Linked DNA regions of Homo sapiens: all the other regions are linked to region 7. Evidence: promoter capture Hi-C in 16 types of primary human blood cells and fetal thymus (Javierre and others, 2016). All regions are on one chromosome and are shown on one strand. Each heading gives the region's core, a stretch centred on a gene start or on the middle of the fragment in contact. The rest is flanking DNA. Distances are from core to core; before and after follow the strand shown.

Evidence for each region. Contacts are between HindIII fragments. The CHiCAGO score rates a contact against its expected background, and 5 or more counts as called.
Region 1: a fragment that was not itself captured here is called in contact with the fragment with the promoter of CD82-AS1 in region 7 in 1 of 17 cell types (total B cells); the score reaches 5.2 in total B cells.
Region 2: a contact is called between a fragment that was not itself captured here and the fragment with the promoter of CD82-AS1 in region 7, in 1 of 17 cell types (total B cells). The highest score is 5.8, in total B cells.
Region 3: a contact is called between a fragment that was not itself captured here and the fragment with the promoter of CD82-AS1 in region 7, in 1 of 17 cell types (total B cells). The highest score is 6.8, in total B cells.
Region 4: a fragment that was not itself captured here is called in contact with the fragment with the promoter of CD82-AS1 in region 7 in 8 of 17 cell types (naive CD4 T cells, megakaryocytes, total CD4 T cells and 5 more); the score reaches 12.1 in naive CD4 T cells.
Region 5: a contact is called between a fragment that was not itself captured here and the fragment with the promoter of CD82-AS1 in region 7, in 8 of 17 cell types (naive CD4 T cells, neutrophils, total CD8 T cells and 5 more). The highest score is 8.6, in naive CD4 T cells.
Region 6: a fragment that was not itself captured here is called in contact with the fragment with the promoter of CD82-AS1 in region 7 in 1 of 17 cell types (endothelial precursors); the score reaches 5.5 in endothelial precursors.

Annotation. Positions count from the first base shown.
Region 1 is chr11:44,311,490-44,315,224 of GRCh38, reverse strand. No RefSeq gene overlaps it. Among named protein-coding and RNA genes, the nearest start is that of ALX4, 3.2 kb to the right of the region's middle. The HindIII fragment of the contact is 4,661 bases long and covers 1-3,735 here.
Region 2 is chr11:45,033,319-45,037,257 of GRCh38, reverse strand. All of the region lies in intron 1 of LOC105376650 (a long non-coding RNA gene), which reads right to left. Among named protein-coding and RNA genes, the nearest start is that of LINC02685, 61 kb to the right of the region's middle. The HindIII fragment of the contact is 3,020 bases long and covers 663-3,682 here.
Region 3 is chr11:44,939,733-44,943,863 of GRCh38, reverse strand. All of the region lies in intron 1 of TP53I11 (tumor protein p53 inducible protein 11), which reads left to right. Among named protein-coding and RNA genes, the nearest start is that of TP53I11, 9.1 kb to the left of the region's middle. RefSeq lists an enhancer at 1-550. The HindIII fragment of the contact is 1,417 bases long and covers 561-1,977 here.
Region 4 is chr11:44,919,608-44,923,490 of GRCh38, reverse strand. It overlaps TSPAN18 (tetraspanin 18), which reads right to left. Exons shown (of 10, transcript NM_130783.5): 8 at 3,492-3,674. Among named protein-coding and RNA genes, the nearest start is that of TP53I11, 29 kb to the left of the region's middle. RefSeq lists an enhancer at 192-693. The HindIII fragment of the contact is 5,797 bases long and covers 1-3,883 here.
Region 5 is chr11:45,106,749-45,110,533 of GRCh38, reverse strand. LOC105376652 (a long non-coding RNA gene) reads left to right here. Exons shown (of 6, transcript XR_931241.3): 5 at 3,214-3,426; 6 at 3,776-3,785. It also overlaps a transcript of PRDM11 not described here. Among named protein-coding and RNA genes, the nearest start is that of PRDM11, 38 kb to the left of the region's middle. The HindIII fragment of the contact is 3,233 bases long and covers 371-3,603 here.
Region 6 is chr11:44,137,706-44,141,632 of GRCh38, reverse strand. All of the region lies in intron 7 of EXT2 (exostosin glycosyltransferase 2), which reads right to left. Among named protein-coding and RNA genes, the nearest start is that of EXT2, 44 kb to the right of the region's middle. The HindIII fragment of the contact is 3,581 bases long and covers 886-3,927 here.
Region 7 is chr11:44,603,545-44,607,122 of GRCh38, reverse strand. CD82-AS1 (CD82 antisense RNA 1) reads left to right here and starts at 1,786. Exons shown (of 2, transcript NR_182290.1): 1 at 1,786-2,105; 2 at 2,393-2,615. It overlaps CD82 (CD82 molecule), which reads right to left. Exons shown (of 10, transcript NM_002231.4): 5 at 1,941-2,065; 6 at 1,694-1,768. The HindIII fragment of the contact is 7,514 bases long and covers 1-2,419 here.

The sequences.
Region 1 (3,735 bases), core at 582-3,081, 290 kb after region 7:
CTACTCGGGAGTCTGAGACAGGAGAATCACTTGAACCTGGGAGATGGAGGTTGCAGTGTGCCAAGATCGTGCCACTGCACTCCAACCTGGGCGACAGAGTAAGACTCCATCTCAAGGGAAAGAAAGAAAGAAAAAAAGAGAGAGAGAGAGGGAGGGAGGAAGGAAGGAAGGGAAAAAAAGGAGGGAGGGAGGTAAGGAAGGAAAGAAGGAAGGAAAGGAAGGAAGAGAGAGAGAAGGAAGGAAGGGGAGAAGGAGAGACAAGGAAGGAAGGAAGGAAGGAAAAAAGGACAGAGGGAGGGAAGGAAGGAAAGAAGGAAGGAAGGAAGGAAAAGAGAGAGAAGGAAGGAAGGAGAGAGAGGGAAGGAAGGAAGGAAAAAGAACGAAAAAAGAAAGAAAGAAAAGAAAGAAAAAGAAAGAGTCTGCTGTGCTCTCTCCCCACTGGGCACCCTCTAACCAACTCAATCCCCCACCCTTGGGCTCTACCGGAGCCACCAGGACTGGGCAGCTACCCCCCCAGCCAGGGGCAGTCCTCTGGGCTATTCATTCAATCATCTATTCAATATATTTTCTGAGCAGCACTGTGTGCCAAGTACTGCACTCAGTACTGGGGAGACAGTGGCCAGGGACTTGCATTCTAGGAAGAACACAGACAATAAACCAAGTACATTAACAAATGTGGGAGATAATATCAGATCACGGTAGACGCTATGGAGGAAAAAGACGATGTGACGGGGTAGCTAGGGTGGCGAAGGAAGGCCTCAGCGAGGAGGTGACACCCAGCACTAGGGTTGAGGAAGAAAGGCTTTTCTTCACCATGTTCCCACACCCTTCCCAAGTGTGGAGCCTGGAGCCTGAGGCCACAGAATGTGGAAGCTGCCTCCTGGAGGGCTGACTGGGAGAAGCAAAAGGGAGGGAGAAGGGGGCAGCCAGCGGAGCATTTGCCAGGGGTGGGAGTGCAGGACTAGAAGCAGTTATCATAGCCTTCCACCATTTGCAGAGCTGGCAACTTCCAGCCAAGTGGTGCACATGACTTCATGACTTGCTGAGGTGGGTGTAGTCCCCTGGGTCTCCCAGTACACAGTGAAGTAACTGGGCATGCAGAAACTGCCTGGCGTGTGAAGGAACCTGACAGGAATCAGGCAGCAAGCCAGGGAGAGCCTCAGCTGCGGGAGAAATAACGCACCTGGAGAGCAGCAGTCAGGCCCAGACTCAGGCTCCAGCACTCTCCCTGTGGCCAGAAAGCTGGAAGGATGCCCTACATCCTTGCTTAAGAACCAGATGGGAGTGGTTCCACTTTCAACTACGGAAGGACCAATAGAGGAACAAATGATTGAACACAAACAGAAATAACCAGCTGCTCTTATTACCACAGTCCCTGGAATGTTTTGGAAGGGACCTAGGAGAGGGAGTCGGTGGAGGTTTGCATGAGGGCTTCAGGTCACACATTCAAAGGACTTGCCCGGAACGTTGTCCCCAAGGCACTTTCTCACTTGTTGGCACTCGCTCATTCTTCCTGGATGCATCTATAAGATAAAATGCGGAGGACTAAAGGCGCTCGTTCCAAGGACACAGGGTCTCAGGCAAGACAGGAAAGATTCTGGCTTAGGGCATGAAATCCTTGGGTTTGAATATCCAGGTGGTCAGGGAAAGGTTGAATAGCGAGGCAGTAATTAAACAGGTAATACAAGCTCAGAGTGTTTAGGTGGTAAGAGGCGAGGTGATGCTCAAAAAATGCTTCATGAAACACAGCAAATTTTTGCATTGGGTGCGCCTGGTTCAGAGGTTCTAGGAAGAGTGTACAATTGCAATTGTTCCTGTCTCGGGGTTGTCATCCCCACCCCAACCCTCTCCACCACAATTTGCCTCTCATAGTCCTTCCCTCATTTTTTAGACAGGAATGGAGGTGGAGAAAGAAGCGGGGGTATTGCCACCACCTTCTGGGTGCCTACAGGCAGCTGCTGGGCACAGGAGACTGGAGTAGGCGGCTGGCTTGGAACTCCTTGACAAAAAAATGCATCTCTAAGCCCCTGGGAACCATAGGACACTTTCATTCATTCACTCAACAAGCATTTTATGAGTGCCAAGCCCTACAGCGAACAAGACAGACCTGGCCCCTGCTGTGAGAAAACTCACTGCTCTCAAGGCACAGGCTCAGGAAGGTCCAGCACGCTGTTAATTCCGCTACTTGATTTTTGAAGAGGGGGTGGGTGGGTGACCAGCTGTCCTTGACTAAGGGAAACCAAAGAAAGAGTCTCAGAACTTGGTGCTGCACTGAGCAGTTGGAATACACTGAGGTGATAGAGTCCTACAGCCCCAGGTTTAATCTTTATTTTATTTTATTTTTATTTATTTATTTTTTTTTTTGAGACGGAGTCTCACCCTGTCGCCCTGTCGCCCATGCTGGAGTGCAGTGGCACAAACTCGGCTCACTGCAAGCTCTGCCTCCCTGGTTCACGCCATTCTCCTGCCTCAGCCTCCCAAGTAGCTGGGACTACATGCGTCTGCCATCACGTCTGGCTAATTTTTGTATTTTTAGTAGAGACAGGGTTTCACCGTGTTAGCCAGGATGGTGTCGATCTCCTGACCTTGTGATCCATCCTCCTTGGCCTCCTAAAGTGCTGGGATTACAGGTGTGAGCCACCGCGCCTGGTCCAGGTTTAATCTTTTATTCCACAAATATTTGTGGGGTGCCAGGCACGTAGGAGGCTGCCCTGGGGCAACTAGTGGGGTTGAGATACACTCATAGCCAGGCAACCAGACAACCACGAGATCTGGGACGGAGATGAGGCAAACGGAAGCGTCAACTTAAACTAGGAGAGACGGGAAGTCTTCCTAGAGGAAGATGCTCTAGGCTGAACTCTGAATCATTAGCCAGACAAAAGTGCAGGAATGAGTTTAGGGAATTCCAGGTAGGGGAAACCACCTATGCTACAGTGCACAGGCTAGAGACCTTGGCAGGTTCTAGGAACTTGAAGAAACCGCTGGACAGGAGCATTTAGGATGATGGCAGGAGCACTCCGCTTTTTGCTAACTGGAAAATTATTTTGGTTGAGTCTCAGTCTACCCATATGCAAAATGGGTATGATAAGCCTTGTATTGCCAGATTGTTGGCACAACAGGAGCTCAATAAATAAAGGACTCTCAAGTGGCTTAGGTCTGCGGGCCAGTGAGGCGCGGTTCCCATTGGGCATGGAGTGGGGGGCGGCTGGAGCCTGCGCGCTCCTGGCTTGGTTTGCGGAATATCTTTATTAACGAGCACTTCAAGGTAAGCCGGCGATGGAAACCAGATGTGGGATCGCGCGGTCGGCGGCGGAGCAAGGACCAGAGATACTAAGGGGGTAGGGTGGGGGTAAGAATTAGCCCAGATGAGATTGGGAGCAGAAGCGCGACCCCCCAGGTATATTTTTTCTTTGGGAGACCTTAGATGCAGAAAGTTGACATCTGACCCACATTCCTTGGTTCACGGTGCTCAGGCCCTCTTTAATTTTACCTTGCACTTTTACCTCTCACCCTACTCCCAGACTCCCTAGAGGTACGTTCTCGCTTAACGATTTTCTCAGCGGTTTAAGGAAGGCTGCTCTCGCTGGTCTCCTTCAACTTGAACCATTCCACAGCCGGGGGCCAGTTTCCCCTCTGCATCTACGCTGTCCGCACGGCCTTCCAGGTCGGTGGAGGGACTAGCCTGAGCAGAGGTTCCAGGGCGCGACGGCTATTTCCCAGCTGTGTGACCTGGAC
Region 2 (3,939 bases), core at 923-3,422, 430 kb before region 7:
GCATCCTTGTGGCTTCTTTCCTCCTATAATTTTGGTCCAAGACATGCAAGCAAAAGTCTGCTGGTCTGTTGGGAGAGGGAGCATAAAAAAATATGCTTGCCAACATTGACCTACTGTGGGGTCCAAAGCCCCAATTCCACAGACACAGACCCAGAACCACCACCCATTAACCAGAGTCTTCATATTCCTTAGTTCATATTTTTAGTGAAAGAAAAGTAGGTCTCTGGCCCCACAGTGGACTGGCTTCTCCTGGATTAGCCATTCACCCCTGGTCCAATCAGCTACGGATGTCAGGGAAGGCATCACGTGATACAAAACGGCTTCTCCGATGTGCCCCTCCAGCTGGGCTGTGGGTGTGAAGCTCTCCAGGGACAGCTGGAATTCCCTCAGGGTTCATCCTGGCATGCTGGGGCCCCGAGTATGTCTCCTGGAGACCAAGGTAAGGGGCCCTCAAGGAGACAGTCTTGCTGATCAGTCCGTCAACCCTCCCTCTGATGACATTTTTCTTCAGGCTGCCTCAAAACTGTCTGTTTTGCTCCTAGAAGGGCGAGCCATTCTCTGTTCTTGGTGGTGATGTGATCTTCATCCAGCATGGGGAAGGGGCTTGCATCCTGGTTCTGCCTTTTGCAAGCTTCATGATCGTCCGTTCGTCTTTCCAAGCTTCCATTTCTTCATCTGCAGGATGGAGATGGGATCCCTGCCTCACATGTCGTGGCAGGGCCAAAGATAGCAAATGTCAACAGCCTAATCTGGCACTGCAAATACTAAAAGATAATGGCTAGAATAACAACAACAACAATAATAATAATTAGCAATATATACTTACATGTGTTACAGTAGTTGTTGCCCCTTGGCCTGTGAATTTTGAGGGGATAAGGAGTGGGGTCTCTTCATGCTTGGGGACCTGATTAGTGGTATTAAGGTGTGGTGTGACTCAATCAATGACACCTTGAGCCTCCTTGATGCAGGGAATAGACGGCAGGCCTCTGAGGACCCAACAACTCCCAGCGCGCCAGCTCTCACACCAGCCATGGCCTGGCAGGAGGAAGGGAAGTGTCTGCAGTAGGCATAGCTCTGTCTCTGACATGGGGCTCCCCCAAAGCTGCTCACCCTAGGGCCCAGCACCCTAGGATAAGCCATGGGATGCCCTGGCTAAATTCTGGAGATGGATAGCTCCTTGGTGGATTTTGCAGACCCCTTTGCTCTTTGTCAGCCTTCTGGGGCTGCAGCCTGCTCAGAGCACTGTGTTGGACTGGAGTCAGGACTGGGTAAGTACGTAAAATTTAAATTTGTAAGTTCAGTTCCCAGGTAGTAGCCCTGACTGAAGCTCCAGGATCTTCTGTGTGTATATGAAGGGTCTACAGGGCATGGGAGGCTGAGCCCCTTGCTTGCTGGCTTTAGAGTTTGGGTGACCGAGATGGCGGCTGTTGGCCACCCTACTTCTAAAGCCTAAATGATTGTCATCATGCCCTTTGTTCTAAGACCTAGTGAAGTTCAAAGCCTTCTTCTATATTTTTCCTAACTTCCTGCAGGGGATGGCGGGGAGGTAAGGGGAAATACTCACTTCTCAGAGTCTTTCTTCCTCCTGGTCCCCAGTTTCCTGTAGCAGCTATCTCTGAACTGTGCCTCACTGACCCTGACATGAAATCTGCTTGGTTTCCGGAATAGCAGCAACAACAAGAATTCACATAAAGCATTCGTGAAATTAACATCTTTTACGAAAAATTGTTTGGAAAGCCTGGGGCTGGGCCTCATCTCAGAATGCACAGCCATATATCTTTCCCTGGGTATTTCTTACATTTGCTAGCAGTGTAGAATAGTGGTTATAGGCACAGACTTGGAGCCAGAGTGTCTGGGTTCAAATCCCAGTTTTGCTCCTGCTTAGTAATTTTGTGATCCTGAGCAAATCCCCTTGCCATTTGGTGCTTCTATAAAATGGGGATACTAAGATGTCCTAATTGGTTGTTCTGAAGCTAAGACAAATTTTAAAAGTTAATATTTGTAATCTGCTTACAACCATGCCTAGCTCATAGGAAGCGCTACGTAAGTGAGTGACAAATGTGACTCCAGTTATGCTCCTCAATTTCTCTTGAACGCTGGGGCTTATGAAGAGATTCACCTCACTAGATGGCTGTGAGGATGAAATGGCATGTGTCATGAACATTTGCTTTTGGCTTTCAAGGGGTGGTACACATCATCAGATATCCAACTCCCATCACATTTGGGGAGCAATTCTCAGTTGCCTCTAGTGTGGGTGGGTCCCGTACCCTTTCCTTCCACGGAAGTCAGTGAGGGGTCCTGAAGTCTTTCCTCTCCACCCCCTGGCAGTTGGTACCTGGGCCTGTGACGTTGACTCCACCTGCAGAACGCTGCCCTTCTGGATCTTGTGCAAAGATGCAGGAACAGACGGGAAATCCTTCCCAGTGGCAGCAGTGGTGACATACCCCAGCCAGCCTGTCCATTAGTATGATGGGGCTGGGGTCCTGCCCTGTGGCTAGTTTGACTCCTACCAGTTTTCTAAGCCTGATTCCTCACTCTTGCCAACAATTATCTAGGCTGCCCAATCTCATCGGTGGCAGAGACTTGTGGATCCTCCCAAGAGCCATCTTCCTGCTTATGTAGTAATAGATTATTTAGCTGGGCCAATGACTGCTTAGATTACAATGGCTTTTCCAGGTTCCCTTGTTCCAAGTGTGGCCATTGACTGTGCTGTGGACAGCAGGTGTGAGCAGAAGAGAGGTGGGCACCTTCCAGGTGGTGCCTTCCAAGGAAGGAGCATTCCTTCCCCCTTGCTTTCTCCCTTCCCTCCTGGCTAGAATGTGGATATGGAGTAAGGCTTCCTGGACCACATCCTGAGGGCAATACCTAGGGTTAGGGGATCCACAAACCAGGGCCTGAAAACTTCTTGAAGCAGAACCACTGCTATGATTTCAATGGTTATACCCCTCCAAAATTCATGTTGAAACTTAATCCCCAATGCAATAGTATTAAGAGATGGGGCCTTTAGGAGGCAATTGGCCATGAGGGCTCTACCCTTACAAATGGGATTCATGCTCCTAGAAAGGGCTCAAGGGGTTCTGTTCACCCCTTCACCCCCTTTTGCCCTTCTGCCATGTGAGAATGCTTCAACAAGGCTCCATCTATGAAGCCCTCACCAGACACTGAATCTGCCAGCATCTTGATCTTGGACTTCCCAGCCTCTACAACTGTGAGTAATAAATTTCACAGCTCACCCAATCTGAGCTATTTTGTTATGGTATCCTGAACCAACTAAGACAACTACCATAACATTTTGGCTACTTACTGAGAAAGAAAGAAATCTCTGTCTAATTTAAGCCACTGTTATTTCTGGGCTCTCTCTTCTTTGCATAGCCATGTGCCTTATATTATATCTAACTCATATACCTTCTAATAGATTTCCTCCACTGCTTCAGCTAGCCACAGATGGTTCCTTTGCCTTTCTTTTTTGTTATTTTCTGTTCTTTTATTTTCCTTTTCTCCCTCTCTCTTTTTCCTTTCTGTTCTTTTTTTGTAATCCAGCACCTTGATTGCTGCAATACATTAAAGCACAAAGTACACATCTTCCTTAGTGCAAAGCAACGTATCAATAAATATGAAGTATTCTTCATCAAGCTGCAAAGTCTTCCCCCTCACAGGCAGCATCCTCCCTTGCCCCAAAGCTTTGGCTCCAGACTCATGAGTTCTTACCTTCCTCCCTAAGACTCCTCACAATATTTTTGTCCAAATTATGTTACAGTTCCTCTGAGGCCTGATGCCAGCTGTTAAGTTAATAAAAGTTTCTCCACTCTGATATGTTTGTTTTGTTTTGCCTGGGAACCTGGTGTCCAGCATTTCTGTTCCTTTGATCTCCGAATGGAAAACAAATTCCCAGGAACCCAAGCCCATGGCCCACGGAGAGAGGCATGCAGAGTAGAGCTC
Region 3 (4,131 bases), core at 20-2,519, 340 kb before region 7:
TGTTGACAAAGTGCCTGCTGTGCACCCCAGCCTCACGGGGAGATACACGGAGGAGCACAGTACAAGCCATACCTTCAGACTGGTTGGTCTTGGGGAGTCAAACTGCCGTGAAATGACCAGGAGTAGAGGCTATAAGTGGCCAGTGGCTGCAGACACTGAGACCCGTGAGAGTCCAGAGGAGGATGAGGACCCAGTGCCCTGGGAGGGCCCTGGGAAGAGGGGCTGTGTGCAAGATAGCCTGGAGGAACAAGGAGCATGGTGGGGGGACAGAGTGTCCCAGGGACCTTCTCACTTGTGTAAAGGGTCAGCAATGAGAACCACTGTTGAAAGGTTTGCTGGCTGATCGGGAATGTGGGCGAGAGCAGCTGGCAGGGCAGAAGGGAAAGGTTCAGGATCCCAGGCCTGGGCCCTAGGAGCCATGTCCTCCCTTCTTGCCAGACAGGTGATGTGGGTGGAGGAGTGGCTGTCCTTGCTGCCCCTGCCCCCAGCCTCCTGCAGCCTGGCTCCTGGGGGAAACCCCCGGGGGCCCTTCAGAAGGCAGTGGGGCAGAGCAGGAAGCTTCACAGCACTGATGGCAGGCTTTTTCCACTGTGCACGGCTGAGTGGAGAAAGGGAAGTGGAAGGAGGGCCAGACTCCTCCCTGGGCAGGGCACTTTCCCCATGGGTGCCCACGTGCACTCCTTCTTTCTCTCTCCACCAGCACGTCTGCGAGGTGAGCGTTCTCACTACCCCCATTTCACAAGAGGGGAAACTGAGGCTAGGAGAGGTGTAGTGACTTGCACAAAGCCATGCAGCTGGCAAGAGGGCAGAGCCAAGACTCAAACCCAGGTCCCCTGCCCCCAAAGCCGGGGTTTGGCCATAGTGCACGGTGGAGTCTTCTGTCCTCACTTAGGCCTGAAATAAACACCTGGAGTGGCCCTGAAGGGGAGGAAAGGTCAAGGGGAGACCTCAGGGGTGTGTGCAGCTTGCCTCGCCAGTGGGGCAGGTGAGGGGCTGCTGGGTGGATCTGATCATTGCAGGGCCCAGTCCTGGGGGTGAAGTAGGGGTGGAGCGCCGTTCTCAGAGCAGTTATCTGTGCTGGAAGGTGGGTGTGGGGCCCTCCTCCCTGGAGGTCAAGATTCCATTTTCTCTGTGGGGCCACATGGGCCCTTTGTGAGTGATGCCCTCCCTGCTAGGGTGGGCTTGGGAGGTGGGCACAGTGGTTCCCACCAGCTCAGATGTCTGATGGCAGTGCCCGTGGATGAAGATTGTCCCACCCATGAGTAATTCTGTCCAGGACACTGTAGTGCCCACTCTTCCCAGCCCCAGCAGGTGGGCACTGACACGTCCCACAGCCGTTGATTTGCAGCAGCTGTTGTTGACTCCGTCCTGGGATGCAGAGGGGAATGCTCTGTGTGTGTATGTGTGTGTGTGTGTGTGTGTGTGTGTGTGTGTATGGTGTGTGTGTGTGGTGTGTGTGTGGTGTTTGTGGTTTGTGTGGTGTGTGTGTATGGTTGTGTGTGGTGTGTTGTGGGGGTGTGTGTGTGTGGTGTCTATGGTGTGTAATGTGTGGTGTGGGTGTGGTGTGTGGTATGTGGTGTGTGTGATGTGTGTGGTGGGTGTGTGTAGTGTGTGGGTGTGTGTGGTGTGTGGTAGGTGTGTGGTGGGTGTGTGTGCGTGGTGGGTATGTGTGGTGTGTGTGTGTTTTGTGTGTGCATTGTGTATGGTGGGTGTGTGTGATGTATGTGTGGTGGGTTTGTGTGGCGTGTGTGTGCACGTATTGTGTGGTGTGTGTAGTTTGTATGGTGTGTGTGTGGTATGTGTGTGGTGTGTGTGGTGTGTATGTGTGTGGTGTGTGGTGTGTGTGTGGCGTGAGTATGGTGTGTATATGTGGTGTGTGTGTGTGTGTACTGTGTGTGCAGTGTGCGTGTGTGTGCATGTGTTGGTGGAGAGGGGTCAGCAGGCAGAGGAAAGCAATGCATCCAATGCCTGGAAGCTTCTGCCCCTCGGAGGTGGGCCGTGGACACAGCCTGGGCCTGGTGGGCAGTGGCTGAGCGCCAGCCTTGTGCCCGGGGACTGAGATCTGGGGCTTTGCCCAGTGGGGCGGAGAAGTTAAGAAGTGTTAGTTAGATCCATTTCCTACTCCTCCATGGCCTCCATCCTGGTGCCACTGCCACATGGGAGGCCTGGGGAGGGTGGCAGTGTCTGTGTCTGATAATTGCCTGTCTTCACTGGGGACTTGCTGTGGGCCAGGCACTTCCCCATGGCTTCATGGAGATTACAGCTTTTATTCTCACAGTATCTCTATAAGATAGGACACCTTATTTTCCCAACTACACCTGGGAAGACTGAGGCACGTAGAGGTTAAGTGACTGACCTGCCCACGGGCACACAGCCAGGCAGTGATGGATCTGGGATTCAAATCCAGGGAGCGTCCTCAGCAGTTAAGCACTTACCCATTAGGCCTTCTGGCTTGAGCAGTGAGCTGGCTCTTTCTAAAGCACTGTCTGTCCATTATTTTGTTTCTCCTGAGACCAGCTGTAGGGGAAAAGTGAGGTTGGCTGTTTTCGTTTCACAGATGAGGACCCCGGAGCTCAGAGAGGAAAAGTAACTTGCTCTAATCAGTGGCTAGCAGATCAGCGCCCCCTCCCCCGGCCAAGGCTGGGAGCTCTTTCAGGATAGGGGGCCTGTCCCACCACCCATGTACCTTGCTCACAGTAGACCTCACTAAGTGCGGATTCCTCAGGCAAATGTGCAGGTGTTTTGCTGAGTGCTCTGAGCTTTTCTTTTTGCCCCGGGCTCCCTAGGAAGTGGGAATGATGGCTCCATTTCACAGATGAGGAAACCGAGACTCAGAGCACAAGGCCACACAGCAGGAAGAGGTAAGGCAGGACTGAGGGAGGCAGCACGTCTGGCCTGGGAGAGGGGTTAACCAGCCAGGAGGAGCTCGTAGAAGGGCTGAAATAAAGACCGACCTTACCGAGTGTTGGTGAGGATGTGGAGGAACTGGAACACTACTGCATTGCCAGGGACACGCAGTGGCATGGCTGCTCTGGGAAACAGTTTGATGCTTTCTCTGAAAGTCCAACAGGGATGTACCACACAGCTCAGCAATTCCACCCCTGGCATTTACATAGAGAAATGAAAACTTACGGTCCCACAGAAACGCGGGTTTGTAGCAGCTCTATTCATAATCATCAACAACTGGAAACAACCCACATGGCCTTCAGTGACCGAATGGATAAACAAGCTGTTACACGTACCCCAGGGAATACTGCTCTCCAATAAAAAGGAGCGGACTCTTGATACACACAGTGACTTGGAGGAATCTCAAAGGCATTCTGCTCAATGACAGGAGCCAGCCTCAAAAGGTTCTACGCTTTATCATTCCACTTACATGGCATATTTGAAAACACAAAAGCCATAGTGTCAGAGAATAGATCAGTGGTTGCCAGGGTGGAGGTGTGAGGGGAGGGAGTGGCCAGCGCCAGGGAGTTTTTGGGGTGATGGAACTGCTCGTTGTCTTGATCTGGAGCTGGTGGCTACAAAAATCTATACGTGTGCTAACATTCAAATAACTGCACAACTGAAGCCCGTCAATTTTGCTGTATGTATTAAAAGATAAAAGGCCATGGGGAGGCTGGAAGAGGAAGGGCGTGGGCCAGGCAACATCCTTGGCTGAGGAACAGGTGAAGGACCCGGTTCTCACCAGTGGCTTAGTGACTTTCAGGGCAGCCTCGCCTGGCCACGGGAGGGACGTGGCTAATTGTAGCTTCTATCTGGGTTCACCAGAAGGCAGTGGCTAGCAGCTGAGGTGTCAGGACGGCGTCCTGGGCCCTCCAGGAGCCGGGTGATGAAAGGTTAGGCCCTGGCTTCCCTGGCAGGGTAGGGTTGGCCTCCTGTCCTGATGGCTGGCACACACCGAAGCATTAACCGGGAGTCTCTTGTGTGCCGGGTGTGGGACTGCCGTCACAGTTACCACCCGCCGCTGTCTCCTTTCACCATGGGGCCTGTGTGTGGGGAGGAGAAAGGCGTATCCACTCCTTTTTGTGGATGAGGAACTAAAGCCAGGGGGCGTAGGAGGGTAGTTTGGCCTGGAAATGACATCACACTCACTAAAGACCGCCAATAGCAACTTTTGCAGTTTTTTTT
Region 4 (3,883 bases), core at 1,280-3,779, 320 kb before region 7:
AGATTGCTTCACCACCACCCACCATCTCCACCCCGTGACGGTTTCCCCTGTCACCACCCGGTGAGACACATGGCGGGGAGCCTCTCCCCAGCCTGCCACCACAGACTATGAGTCTTCTAACCATGTGGGCTGTTGCCAGTGCCATCCTCCCTCTCTGCTGGGTGGGCACATCCCCCACCCCCTGCTGCCACCCACAGTCACCACCCACCTAATCTGATGAGGGGCAGCCAGGCCTGGTTGCCACCACAATGGGTCACCCACACGCAATGCTTCCCACACGTACATCTCCAGCACCGACCCCTCCAGCTCCACCCCATACACCCAGCTGCCCACTGGACACCTCTGCTCAGCTGTTCCAAAGGCTTCTTTTTTTCTTTTTTTTGAGATGGAGTCTCACTGTGCTGCCCAGGCTGAAGCACAGTGGCATGACCTCAGCTCACCGCAACCTCCGCCTCCCGGGTTCAAGTGATTCTCCTGCCTCAGCCTCCCAAGTAGCTGGGATTATAGGCACATGCCACCACGCCAGGCTAATTTTTGTATTTTTAGTAGAGACGGGGTTTCTCCGTGTTGGCTGGGCTGGTCTCGAACTCCTGACATCAGGTGATCCGCCCGCCTCGGCCTCCCAAAGTGTTGGGATTACAGGCGTGAGCCAACGTGCCTGGCCTCCAAAGGTTTCTTAGACGCAACATGCCCCAGACTGAATGCAAGATCGTCCCCAAACCAGAAGCCAGTCACTCAGCACCTCCTCCTGCCCCTCCTCCAATGAGGACCCATCACGAAGGCTGGTAGATTTTGCCTCCTGAACATTTCTCAGATCCACACACCTCTCTGTCTTTACCGCCATCACCCTGGTCTTACCTGCTGTCCTTTCTCACTGGCACCAGTATAAAAGCCCCCTGTCTACCCAGGTCCACCACCAATGTGGACCAGGGGGCCACAGAGCAACTAGGATGTCCCTGTGGCCACGCCATGCATCCCTGCACACCTCACCCCCACCCCAACCCCCACAGTGAACTCAACTCTTCCCAGATCCTTGCCATGGGCCTGCCAGCAAAGTCAGAAATGTATCCTAGGGCCGGACATGGTGGTTCATGCCTGTAATCCCAGCACTTGGGGAGGCCAAGAGGGTGGATCATTTGAGGTCAGGAGTTTGAGACCAGCCTGGACAACATGGTGAAATGCCGGTCTCTACCAAAAAATACAAAAATTAGCTGGGTATGGTGGCATGTGCCTGTAGTCCCAGCTACTTGAGAGGTTGAGGTGGGAGAAACACTTGAACCCTGGAGGTGGAGGTTGCAGTGAGCCAGGATTGTGCCATTGCACTCCAGCCTGAGCGACAGAGCGAGACTCAGTCTCAAAAAAAAAAAAAAAAATGCATCCTGGGCTTTAAGCAAGAGGGCTTTGGAGGAAAAGACAAATAGAGACAGTTCCACAGCAGCAGATTTTTAACGGGACGAAATGCCTAGGAGGGACATGAATGTCTCAGCAAAGAAACCCCAGGAGCCAGTCTCAGACCCTCAGGAACAACAGAGTCACTGGAAAGAATGAATGTGGCTGTGCAGGGACCTCTCTGATGAGCTCTGATTTTGAAGACATGCCCAGGAGAGGAAAGGAGACATCCTAACGGAGGATGAGTCCAGAAATGGGAAGCACATCTGATGCGGGGAATGCGGCCCATGGGAAGCCTCCTGAAAACTTACAAGTAGCATTAAAAGGTTCTAAGTTTGGCTGTTGGCAACGGGCATCTCAAACAACAGCTCCTTCACCAAGTTACAAATTCACTGGTCTTTCACATAAACCCCACGCTATGGTGGCCGCTGTATGCCATGGAACTGTACGTGGCCCAGGCTCCTTCTCTCTGGATGCTCTGCCATCCTAGGGGCCACCTCCCTCTGCCAAGTCCTAGCCAGAGAAAAAAGGAGGGGTGGGCACAGCACTTTCTCTTAAGGATGTGACTCAAGTTGCACAAATCACCTCTGCTCACCTCCCGTTAGCCAGAACTCGGTTACATGGTCTAGCTGCAAGGCAGGCTGGGAAGTGCAGCCTCTAGCTGGTGGTCATGGGGTGTGATAACCATTCCCTTCCCAAGAGAGTAGGGGTGAATGGATCGTGGGGGGCAGCCAGCAGCCTCTGCCAACATATGGAATCTGAGGTCCAGCGAGGGTGTCTTGGCGAAGGCAACACAGCAGTTAACAGCCCACCCCTGCCTGCCATGGAAGCCTGAAACTCCCCTCCCCGCCCTGCAGCTGCTCCCCACGGCAGGTCTCTCTGCCCCACGTCCACAGTGGCCTCAACTCAGGGCCCTCATTTCTCTATTGAGCCTCTTTCCCCCAATGCAGGAAGGCAGGGTGATGAGGGACAGAGAGAACGTGGCCCTCAGGGCCTCAGGAATCCATGGGGATGTGCCAGGGCCAGAGGGGCTGAGTTCCTGGGGCAGAGCTGAGGCTGGAAAGGGCCCGCCAGAGCCCCAGGACCCAGGCCTCTGCTCACTGTCACCTCCTCTGGGACTTTGCAAGTTCTGCCTTGAGCCCCCACCCAAGGCCCATTCTAGCCCCTCATCTGGTTTTATTTCTTCGCAGCAATCATGACCATGTGAAATGATTACTTCTCATTAGTTTGCTGCTTGTTCATCTTGCGCGTCCTCTAATGAGATCGTGAGCCTCGCAGGAACAGGGGCCTTGTCTCCTGTCCCCTGCTGTGTCTCTTGCATCTGGAACTCTCCATGAGACCCTCGTTAAAGTCCTACTCAAGCAAGGGGGCTGGGGCCCAGGCTTAGATCACCCTCGTCCTCTCCCTCCCTCTCCTCCTGCCTAGCCTGGTCACACACCCACACTGGCAGAGTGGGGGCTGGTCAGTGGGAAGAAGGGGATTAAGAGCAAGGGCATTGTGAACTCATAAGGGTGTGTGGGCAGGAGGCACACAAAGCCAGGCGCTTGTCTTCCCTAGAAATGGCACGTGCAGGAAGGGAAAGGGTTTCTTCCAAGGCTGCGAGGAAGTCCTCAGGTTGCAAGAGAACCTGAAGTCTAGGAGCTTCTCTGACCTTGGAGAGTCAGGTCAAGGAGACCTTGCTCCCTTAGGGTGCCCCACATGGCAAATAAGAGCTTCCTCCAAAATACAGTGCATGGCTAAGAAGGGCCCCCCACTGTGCAATTCTGGTTCTGTCCCCCTCCCTCCCTTTGGACCTGCATTATCAGAAACTCAGGAAACATCGGGAAACTCCTACTCACCCCTTAGCCCCAGCCTGAATGCCCACTCCAGCGGCAGACCATCTGCCACTGTCATCCTTCCCCATTTTGGTTGGATCTCAGGGGCTTGGACAGAGAGCCTCCATCAGCCCCTGCTCAGGTGCAGGCATCCCATATCATGGCCAACACTTCCCTGGGATTCCTGGGGTAGCTTCAGACCCTCTGGGGTGATAGCGCCTCCCACCCAGCTCTGGCCACCCAAATCCCGATAGACCCACTCCCCTGTCTGGAGAGCAGGGCCAGTACCTGCTTGTTTAGGAATAGGCTCCTTCCCAGGAGGCACTCCTCCCGGCTCAGCAGGACCCCGTCCCGACTTTGGGGTTCCCTCCGGCAGCAGGCCTCCGGCACCTCTTCACTATCCAGGGTCAGGAGTCGAAACACAGATGCAAACTTAAAGTCTTCAGGCCCGTTGACCCCGCAGCAACCAAACTAGGGGGAGATCCCAGAGAAGGTTCTGGTGGGCAGGAGGAGGACACAGGGGCGGGGACAGAGAAGGACATACAGCCTCTGCAAAGGAGTGGCATCAGAAGACTGGGTGTGGGCGGGCTCCACCTGTCACCACTGTGTGACCATGGGAAAGCCACTCAGCTTCTCTGGGCCTTCAGTGTCCTCATCTCTATAACAGAGGTGGCAGTAAC
Region 5 (3,785 bases), core at 738-3,237, 500 kb before region 7:
TCACAGATAGTTGGGTCCGGCTGCATGTTGCTTTCAGGGTATTTCTCCTACCTGGCCCCATCAGTGACTGGCTTAGAAGAAATTCCTCAAACTCCTACCTGGCCCTTTAGAAAAATTGTAATGCTATCTAAATGCCCCACCTCTCATCCCCACCCCCCTTTTACGTTTTCCTGGTGAGTTCAATTAGGGTTGGGGGTGACATGTGGGCAAGCCAGATCTCTGTAAGGGCATGTACTCAGGGCTCTCATTTTTCTGGCTCCGAAGCTTAGCTGCCACTTCTTGGGTCTGCATAAGGATTAGTTGTTCTTGGAAGAAAAATAAAAGCCACCCCGATCCAAGAAAGGAGATGAAAAATTCTTTGTGTGAAGCTTAGCATTGCCAAAGGTGTAGGTACTGTCCCTCCCAGGGGTGTTTGCACGCAAAGTGTATAAACTACAGAAATAAAGGAGAGGTTTGGATGAAGGTCACTTTGGGTCACTGAGTTTTCCTAGTCAGAATCCTGACATATAGAGGGCTGATAACCACGTCTATGCTATCAGCAGGTCACACAGGGCACAGATGCCCACCTGCTCACTGCTGCAGTGCCTCCAGCTTTGAAAGGAGTGGTGACTGTGAGCAACCCTGGACACTGGAATGGGGAGGAAACATCCCTGAACAGGGCTTAGAGAGTATCATGGAACCAGAGACTCAGAAAGGGAAGGAATTTTAGAGACAAAAGCCCACCCTTCCCCATCTAGTGCTTCAATCTTTCTACCTTTTTGCTACCAGAAGGTTATCAGCTTACACTTACATACCCCTAGGGACAGGAGCTCACTACCTGATAAGCAGGCCCTGCTTTCCCTGGAAAGATCTGACTCAGAAAGCACTTCCTCCCACCATCCTAAATCTGCCCTGTTCCATCTCCCACACCTCAGTCTTGGTTGTGGCCCAGTGGAGCCACAGAGAACAGATACTCTCCCTCCTCCGCAGGATAGCCTCTGAATATTTTGAGAATGAGTAGGGCTCCTCCGAGTGGTCTCCTTTCTAGGGAGAGTTGATTAATTAGGACTCTTTTCATCTGTGCATGGTAGAGACAGGGCCTCACCATGTTTAGGGGCAACATGAGGAATTTCTGGTCACATAGCCCTGCGACATCCAAGGTGATGCTGGGTCAAGGAGAGTGAGTGATGTTGTCAGGGCACTGCTGTCTCTGGGTGTCCCTTTTCTTGAGCTGTGCTATTTTCCTTTCAAGGCAGGGGTGGGTAGAACCATGGCCACTGGCATTGCCAAGCCTGCATCCTACCTGTAGTAGCAAGAGACCGCCACTCCTCACCACTCTGGGTCAGGGCCAACTGCAGTTTCAGAGGGACAGAAATAGGAGGTGACCCAAAGAGGGTGCCTAAGCACAGGTCAGAGGTGAAAAGTCAGACTCAACCTTTCCTGAGGGGCGGGGACAACATTTTTCGGTTTCCAGCCTTGAGTGCCCAGAGGCCTGTGGCCAGGGGTGTTGACAGTCTCACAGGCTAAGCCCCGACATCTTCCTGGAGAGGCAACTTTCTTCACTGGAAGTCATTTAAAGCCCTATTTTTAGATTTAAACAAAAATGGAAACATTATGGAGCAGAATGCAGAATCTGCGTGTATTTTTTGAGACAAAACCCAAGACTTCAAAGAAATTTCACACTTGTGTCAGCTGCTTCAGGCAGGCTGCCTGGCCTGCGGGTGCATGTGTTAATTCTTGGTTGGCATTAGTGGGTATTTCAGGGGCAGGCTGAGAAAGTCTGAGTGGCACTGGGCCTGGGTCCCCACATAGCTACAGGCAGGGCTGGGGAGAAATGGGTCCAAGGACTTCAAAGACAGCTGCCACTGAGAGGCCCCTGGTGCCTCTGGGCACCACATTCCCTGAAAGGAGGCAGCTCGTCCTCACTCGGGAGTGAGGCCCCACCATGAGGACACACCTGCCTCTGGAATCCTGTCCAAGGGCAGGAGCCAGAGCCCAGGCTGAGCAAGGGATCCGTGGGCCCCAGCAGGAAATGCCAGCCGAGAGTGCAGGAGGCAGTGCCTGGCTGCTGCTTCCAGCTTTTCACAGAGCAGTGGGCACATGGGCAGGAGTGATCTTTGAAATATTTAACCCCAGAAGCTCATGGGACCAACAGTCAGAACAGACCTGGCCTGGTACTTGAGCAGGTCCCAGGGGCCCAATTGGACCAAGGCCACCCCTCAAGCTGCTGCATCATGGGGAGACACGGGGATCCCACGTAAGAGGCCAGGGCAGCAGGGCAGCGGGTCACACTCATGGGGAATTAGACAGCAGCTATTTACCAACTGGAGTGGACACATGCTGATATTTTAACAACCAGGATGGCAGCACTGGCTGAAAATGAGCCACGTGCATGGGTCTGATCAAGCGAGATTAAGATGAATCCAGGGCGGGGTGCAGTGGCTCACGCTTGTAATCCCAGCACTTTGGGAGGCCAAGGCCAGGAGTTTGAGACCAGCCTAGTCAACATGGTGAGACCCTGTCTCTACTAAAAATACAAAATACACACACAAAATAAGTTAGCCAGGCATGGTGGTGTAGACCTGTAGTCCCAGCTACTTGGGAGGCTGAGACATGAGAATCACTTGTACCCTGGAGTTGGAGGTTGCGATGAGTTGAGCTCTCACCACTGCACTCCAGCCTGGGTGACAGAGCGAGACTCTGTCTCACAAAAAAAAAAAAAAATCCAACCCACATTTATTGAGCACTTATTATATGCCAGGAACTGTGCTGGAGCCTTTATGTATATTAACTAGTTTAATTTGTACAATGCCACGCAAATCTATCAGTTCATTTAACACTACAGAGGATTGGTGTGAAAGCAACACGGAAAAGCCAGTCAGCAAACCTGACAGGCTTAGAGGAACCCCACCCCTACCCCTGCCCTGTCCCCCACTCAACTAGAGATGGGCATTTCCTTAAAGGCAGATGGCACAGAAGTCCAGACCTCCCTCTTGGCTTTCCCACTGCACCCCATCCACCCTCTGTTCTGCTTCATCAGTTGTCCACATTTGACATTCATTAGACTTACTCTTCACAACTGTATACACAAAACCATGTGTATCCATGCTGGTGGGGAGCATAAGAGGTTCTCAAGGGTCGTTTTGTGTGTACCTAATTTTTGCCTTACTGATTTAGAACTTGCCCCTGAAATGGGCTATGACTCATTGAACTATAATTAGCCCCGTTTTGCAGGTGAGAAAGTGGAGTTCGAAGATGTCATCAGCCCAGGTCACACAGATGGTGGAGACCAGTGTGGAGCCCGGGAGTGGGCTGAGCAGAGCATCTGGACTTTGAGCTTCCATCAGACCCTGAGATAGTCACCTGTCCTGGCTGCCTGGTGACCCTGGTGTGCTAACGTGGCACTTATCTTGCTCTATGGAGGCCCCTGGGCCCCCTAAACACCAGGTGGGTGCCTTCAGCCAGCCCCATACTGACCTGTGAAGCCCAGGTATTGCTGGCCAACCCACCCCACTCACAGACAGAAGCAGTTCTCCATCTTTTGGCTTTAGCAGATCTGCTTCATTTCTCCTCCCCACAAAGCCTGGACTTTGTTCTGGGGGTATCCCTGTTTGCAGTGAAGCTTTTTCACTCAGTGCTCAATCTGAGCCCAACTCCACCCCACATCTCTGATTCATAGACTTTTGTGACTGCCTTGACCAGTAGAGTATGGCAGAAGATGCTCTGTAACTTCCCAGGCTAGATCTAGAAAATGCCACGCATTTCTGCCTTGCTCTCCTGCGACATCCACTCTTAGAACCCAGTTG
Region 6 (3,927 bases), core at 1,427-3,926, 470 kb after region 7:
TGAAGATTGTTCATGATCATAAATTTACTGACAACTTTCAACATACTTAAAAGTTGTTTAGTTTGTTAAGAGTATAGTATAAGCAATAACACCCAGTTCACTGTCCTAAATTAAACTTAACTAATTAGATGATATCAACTTAGTCATCAGAAAAGTATGGAAAAGTGATTCTACCACTTTGGAGTTTGGGGCATTTTGCTTTGTTTTGCTGCTCATTTGGTTTTTGTACAATTACAGTTGGTCCCTTGTATTTGCGGTTCTGTATCTGTGGTTCCACATCCATGGATTCAACCAATCACAGATCAAAAATATTCGGAAAAAAAACTGTGCCTGTACTGAACATACATAAAATTTTCTTCCTTTCACTTATTCCCTAAACAATACAGTATAATAACTATCTGCACAGCATTTACATTGTATTAGGAAGTATAATTAATCTAGGGGTAATTTAAAGTATAAGGGAGGATATACATAGGTCATATGCAAATACTATGCCATTTTGTAGCAGAGACTTGAGCATCCTTGAGTTCTGGTATCTGCAGGAGGTCCTGGAACCAATCCCCCACAGATACTGAGGGATGACTGTACTCTTCCCCACAACAGCTACACGAGTAATAAAATGAATCAGTATATTTTATTATTTGTTCAATGACAATCCAAGATCAACAGCTATATATGTTTGACTAACTTACTATAAAAATTCTTGCTTTTGCCTCAACCTCAAGTTAAATGACTATTTTAAATGGAACACACTTGCAAAACTGCTCATGTCCACTTGAAAAAGGAAAAATAACATGTTTGTGCCAAAAAGCTGTATACAGAGTAGTTAGAAATATATATGCCCATTGGATTTTGCTTATCACTACTAACCTCTTCCTAAAAGCTTTAGTTAGAAGAAGAGCAGGAAGATATAAAGTACATTCTAAGGGCTTATTCTACCCATCCATCCCCCTTTGGAAGTCAAAGTTGGAAGGTTTAAAGGAGAAGGAGAGTAAGGATGCTCTTTTTAAAATGCCTGGAAAAACATTCTGGGCAGGAGATGCCAAAGATTTTGAAGCTCCCATCAAACCACTGGCCTTGATCCAGGTAATGGTTTTTCCTTCCCCTCAGCTGTCTGCTGCAGTTTTCCAGCAAAGAAAGAAAGAAAAGTGGTAGGATAGAGGCAGGAGCAGCCTCTAGTCTACTTCTCTATAACAGAGAGGGTAAAAAGGGCCAAGCATCGCAGGCTGACATTTATGGAGGGCCTGGTGTTTCCATGAAACTCTCTGGGAGGATTATTGAGGGTTAACAGTCTGTTCTAAAAGGGTCAGCAAAGCAGACTGATGAAAGTCCCTTTAAATTCGATAACAGTGATGCTGCGGAGGCAGAGACAGCAGGCTGGAGCTGGCAAAGACACGCAAGCAGAGGTCCAGCCAGTCAGACTGCCTTTAGGAAAAAATTCATTGCAAACCTGGCCACCCTAACCCTTCAAGTTGCCCAACTCACTTGCTGAAGCGTGAAAGCACAAACTGCCAGTGGAATGGCATTTCTAATCTTGGGATAAAAATAAAAGCCCTTGGAAAACCCTCTTTTGCCTAACCCTTCCTGCCCTGCCCCTACCAGTGGCCAACGGCGAGGTTCCGGACCTGCAAAGGTTAATTATCTTGCTAGTCTTTCACCTCTGCACCACTGCCCCACCACCCAATCCCTTCTGCCTGGCATTTTTCTTCAATTTTAATATCAGAAGTTTCACACGCCTGCCTGAGCTCCTGGACTCAGCAGAAAGGCCCATATAGCTGTCAGCAAACTGATAAGGACTTTAAAATGACTCCACAGGGCCTCTTTATAAAGAAGAGCCAAAGAAGCCCATAAAGAAAAGGGCAGGGGCCACGGAAACCAGCCGCTCACACTGTTTTAACGTGGCATTAAAATGAGCTGCAGATTTATGGGAGTGCTTTAGCCCCTGGCCCAAATCATGTGGGAGATGAAGCTCGTCTCCCCTTTCCAGCGGGATTTCCAATAGGGGATGGAGCTGGCTAGAAAGAAATGGGGGAAGGGAGGCAGAGGCAGCAAAATGGGGAGAAGAGGAAAAGTGAAGAGGCAGAGGGCACCATGAAAATCAGATATCAGAACTCATTCTCCTTTCTGCAGGATGTGAACAGCTATTTCTAAAAGGTATGTGACCAGTCCTCCTAAATTCACATAAAAATGTCCTTTATTTTTAGCTTATACTTACTAGACTGTAGCTCCTCAGCTGTTTACCACTCAAACATCTATTCTGATTCTAACTTTCCTCTACAAGTTTTTTTAATTAAAAAAATGGATAAAATTATGATCAGGCAAAGAAAAGATTAGAAGGGGGAAAAGGCTCAGTACCATTTTTTTTTCCATTGGAAAGGGGAAAGAAAGCAATAATACTTTATCCAAATGTGCCAATGAATTAAAAAAAAAAAAAGGTCAGCTAAAGAGTCACTGATTTTTATCTCCCTACAAGTCATTCTGATCCTCACACACACACGCAAAAAAAAAAAAAGGAGAGAGAGAGAAGTAAGCCTCTTCCATGCCAAGATGTAAAATGTACACCAGAACCCACAGGAATAAATTCTCTTTCGAGTTTCCAAGCCCAGAAGCAAATGCATAATACATCAGTAGTTGTAACTTACTGTGGTTCTTTAAGACCACTCTGCATTCCTTGGAGGCTCCTTCTAATACTTAAATGCTGCCCCAGGAGGAGTTGTCCCAAATGACGGCCAGCATAGAGTGGGGGGCCAGAATCTACATGCTTTGAGTCAATCATCTCATTTAATCAATACAACTACTCCATACTATTATTAGCTCCACGTTATAGGTAAGAAAACAGAAGCTACAAAACTGGTACACACCCGGCAGAGCAGGACTCAAATTCAAGTCTCTCCAACTCACAGGCCCACTGGGCTTTCCAGTACCAACTTTCCTCAAACTTTCTGGACTGGGACCCACAGTAAGAAATACACAAATACATTTTATGCAACAACTCACTACTGGAACAAAAGCTACAGGAAATATTTACCCTTACTCTGTATAAAGCTCTCTAATAGTTTCCTATTATATTTCATTAAAAAAAAAATGCCAGTCGTGACCCACTGAATTGACTTCATGATCTGCTAATGAATCATTACCTTCGGTTTGGAAAATACTGCAGTACACCATGAAAAAAAAACAAATCATCAGACTGGGAGTCAGGAGACCTAGGTTCCAGCTGCAGACTAGGCCTAACAATTCATTCTCAAGATTACTGCAACTCTAGGGCTTACTTGTCACTTGTAAAATACAAGGAAAGGGTTGAATAATTTCTAAGGTCCCTTCCAGCTCTTTGATTTCTTTCCTAAATCTCTTCAATTATGTTCACTGCTTTCTCCTTGCCTCACAAATCTTTTCATTACCTTCCGCTTGTTAGTTACCGTCCTTCCCTTCAGTTCTCAACCAAGTTCTCTGTTGCTGGTATTCAAAGCTCTCCCCTGCCTCCCGTGCCTGTGCCACCAGATGCTCCTCTTACCTACTAGTCTCTCCACAGAACCTCCTGGTGGAAGTCAGTGCCCTGATGTTCACCCTCTCTATCTGAGGCTACCCAGTTGTGAAGATTCCTTTCACCTTCTGATCCACTCTGATCTTGAGGTCATTCCTGGCTCTCCTTAGCATAACTGAGTACACAGCACTCCTGGCCTTATAATTTATGTATTACTGAAAGTTCTCTTTCCAGCAACCTGAGGGCCTTTCTTAAAGACAGGATCTGTGCCCACCCTTTTTAAAATCTCCCTCAACATGCCAGTACAATACTAGGAACAAAGCAAGTCCTTAATCCATATTTATTTAACTGATTGCATTATGAAATTAAGGACCCTAATTCTCCTAAATTTAAAGAATGCTTAGGTGAGCTACTCTTAGAAAAGTCACCAAACCAATTAAAAC
Region 7 (3,578 bases), core at 537-3,036:
GTGAAGGGCAGGAGCCTATCTGGCTGCCGGCTCTGCCACCCTCCCTGGTGGACAAGAACTGGTGGCACTGGAAGCAGGGACCCTAAGGGTCTGCTAGGCCACAGGCCATGTGCAGCAGGGTCTGGGGACGGGTGAACTCAGGACTCGGAGTCAGGGAGCCTAGGCTGTCCTTACTCCTTCATCTGCAGGACGGGGATTCTCCCACGACCTTGAGAGGGCCTAGTGAGGATCTGCGAGAGGAGGAGTGTAACGTGGTCAACACTGTACTTGGTATATGCTGTGCATGGACTCAACTGGAGGGATGGTGGGTGTTAGAGTCACTGTTATCTATGTTGTTATTGCTCTTCATCTCAGAGCATCTGCTTCTCCATCTGTCAACATAAAACCCTGCAGAGCCATTGTGAGGACAAGACGCTGTATGGAAAGTTTCTAGAAGATCCCACGTGCACACAGTAGGTGCTTCTTACGTGATAACTGTGACTCACAATTAACTGGCTCACCCAACAGCCATTCTTGGCTCCTTTCTCTCTTGTGCCTCTGTCTTTAGAGTCTGAAAGTTGGATACTCACATTCTCAGCCTCTTTTGCAACCAGGGGTGGCTTTGTAACCCAGTCTGGGGAAGTCTGTTGGAGGACTTTTTTTTTTTTTTTTTTTTGAGACAGGGTCTCACTCTGTTGCCCCAAGCTCTGTTTCATGGCTCCCTGTAGCCTCAACCTCCTGGCCTCAAGGATCCTCCTGCCTCAGCCTCCTGAGTAGCTGGGACCACAGGTGAACACCACCATGGCTAGCATTTTTAAAAATTTGTTTGTAGAAATGGGGTCTCACCATGTTGCCCAGGCTAGTCTCAGAGCAATCCTCCCACCTCTGCCTCCCTAAGTATTGGGATTACAGTCATGAGCCACTGCGCCTTTTCTGATAAAAGGGATGGCCATGTCTGGCACTGCCCACTTCCCCATCTTCAGGCCACAGCGGCACAGACATCGTGCCTGGTGCTGTGGCAGCCATCTTGGAACCACGAGGTAAGTGTCATAATGCAGGAAAGCCATCCCAGCGAGGATGCTCAACAGCCAGAACCAGGGCCTCTGAGCTTCCAAACCAGACTTCCGGTCAAGTCAACCACAGATGTCCTTCAACTTTAAGCCGCTGTAAGTCTGATTTTCTGTTTCTGAAAGCTGAACATCTCCCCTCGGACACAAGACTGATGTTTTTATTAACGGTCTCCTTCTAAACCTCATTTGTGGGTGAGTGGCATGGATTTAATAGTTGCTAAAGTATCTTAATAATAACAAGAATAACATTTATTGAGTACTTATGGTGCCATGCGCTATGTGTTTCACTCAGATAATCTCGAATAATCTTTGCAACCACTCTGAGAGTTCAGTTTTCTTATTGTTTCCATTTTACAGATGGTGGAACAGGCACATAGAGGCAAGCAGCTTGCCCAAGGCCACACAGCTAGAAAGCAGGGGGGTCAGGCTAAGATCCAGGCCCAGCGGGGACTGCCCACACCTGCCGCCTTCTCTTCTAACGCTCCCCCATTTGATCACAAGGAATAGTGTCCAGGAGGCCGTCCCTGACACCTACTGGATCTGTCTGTGACAACTGGGGGGGTTCCTTGTCCATCCCCCACACTCAGTCAATCACCCCCATGGTTGGTCCAGCCCAGTGAAGAGGGAGGGAGAGAGGGGCTTACCTTGCCCATGTTGAAGTAGAAGAGGGCCCCGGCCGTCACCTGGGCAATGAGGATCAGGAGCAGGAAAGCAAAGTACTGGGGACACAGAGCAGGCACAAAGTCAGCTGAGGGTCCCCGACCAGGTGCACCCAGCCTGCGTGCCCCGAGAGATGCTCTCCACCCGATGTTACGGCCAGCGCCGCGGTCAGGCTGCACTCGGCTGGATGAGAGGAAATGGGCAGGCAGCTGCGGAGGGATCCGTACTCACCAGCCCCAGCAGGCAGCGGACCTCGTTGACGGCGCCGATGCAGCCCAGGAAGCCCATGAGCATAGTGACTGCCCCCACGCCGATGAAGACATAGGCCCCCATCCTAAGCGAGCTGGAGGAGGTTTCTAGGGGGAAGAAGAAGTACAAAATCAGTGGGCACAGCAGGTATAAACACCTGGCCTAACCGTCCAGGTCTTCTTCCGGATCCCCTCTTTGGAGCCAGGGTGTTGGGGTCAGCTGCATTCCCCTGCTGGCTTCTCACTGCCCAACAGGGAACCAGGTCACCCCCATCCCCACTTGTGTCCCTCCCCCAGTAAAATTGCAATCCACACCCTCATCCAGCCTAAGCCCCTTCCCGGCTTTATTTTTTACTTCGTAAGGCTTCTCAGGATTGAATAGACTACATTTCACTGATTCTTCTTGCTCATTGTCTGCTCTCCCCCTCCACCAAGGACCTGAGGTGCATGAGGGCAGAAGCTTCACTTTATTCCTGGGGAACCCCCAGCTCGAACAGCGCCTCTCGCAGTGAGGTGCTGTGCACAGTGAATATCTGCGGAATTGACAGACAAGAGGCTGGCTGGTTCTCCAGGGGCCACTGACATTAAGATTCCAAGCTGATTTTTAACCCGCCTTCCTTCTTGTCCATATAATAACAAACACCAGCCTTTCTTGCCCACTCACTGTGCCTCATGGGCTTTCCACACGCCGTCTCCAACTCTGACATCACCCTGCCTGGCAGGCACTAGCATGGCCATTTCACAGAAGAAAAAAATGAGGCTCAGAAAGGCGAACAGGCAAGGGCCTGAGCTGGAATTTGAAAATATGCAAATCTCCAGTGCCACACTCTTTCCACTGATGCACGGGGCACATGTATTGCTACAGGTGTGCTGCATGTTCATTCGGCCAAGAAATGTTTACTGGGTGCCCACTTCATGCCAGGCACTGTGCCAGTTGCTGGGGATGCAGAAGAGTGACTAACAAGGTCTGACATTTGGGGGTGGGGAGTGGAGACAAAAAGTACACAATACAGGTTTTCTGGTTGTGTTGGGCGCCATGAAGATACCAAAGCTGGCTAACTGCAGAGAACTGCTGGGCTGGGAGAGGGTCAGAATGGGTCGACGAAGGCCAGCCTGAGCCAGTGACATTTGAGCCAAGACATGAATGAAGAAGTCAGCCAAGCAAAGATCTGTAAGAAAAGCATTCCAGGCAGGGAACACAGCAGGTGCAAAGGCCTGAGGAAGGAGGAGCTTGGTTATTTGAAGATTGGAAAGAAGGTGAGAGAACGGACCAGTGAGAGCAAGAAAGAAGCCCGGGAGGAAATGATGCTTAGGAGGTACAGGAATGGGCCTGATGGCTAAGACCCTCTTTAGAGCTACCTGTGGACAGGCCCATTCCGGGAGGTAGAGGTCAGGAGTCCTGCAGGGGCACTTGGCCAACATTTCCTAAGACACCCAACCCATCACACAGGGTAAAGCTCATGTCATCTCTAACTCACCAGCATGGGTACACTGTACCCCCAGGGCATGGGACGCACCTGGAGGGCGAGGGTGCTGGCGTCTCCAGAAGGCTGGAGAGTAGTGTGGATCAGAGGAGCCTCTTAGGGATGCAGATGCTTGAGTCCGTTACAACCCGACCAAG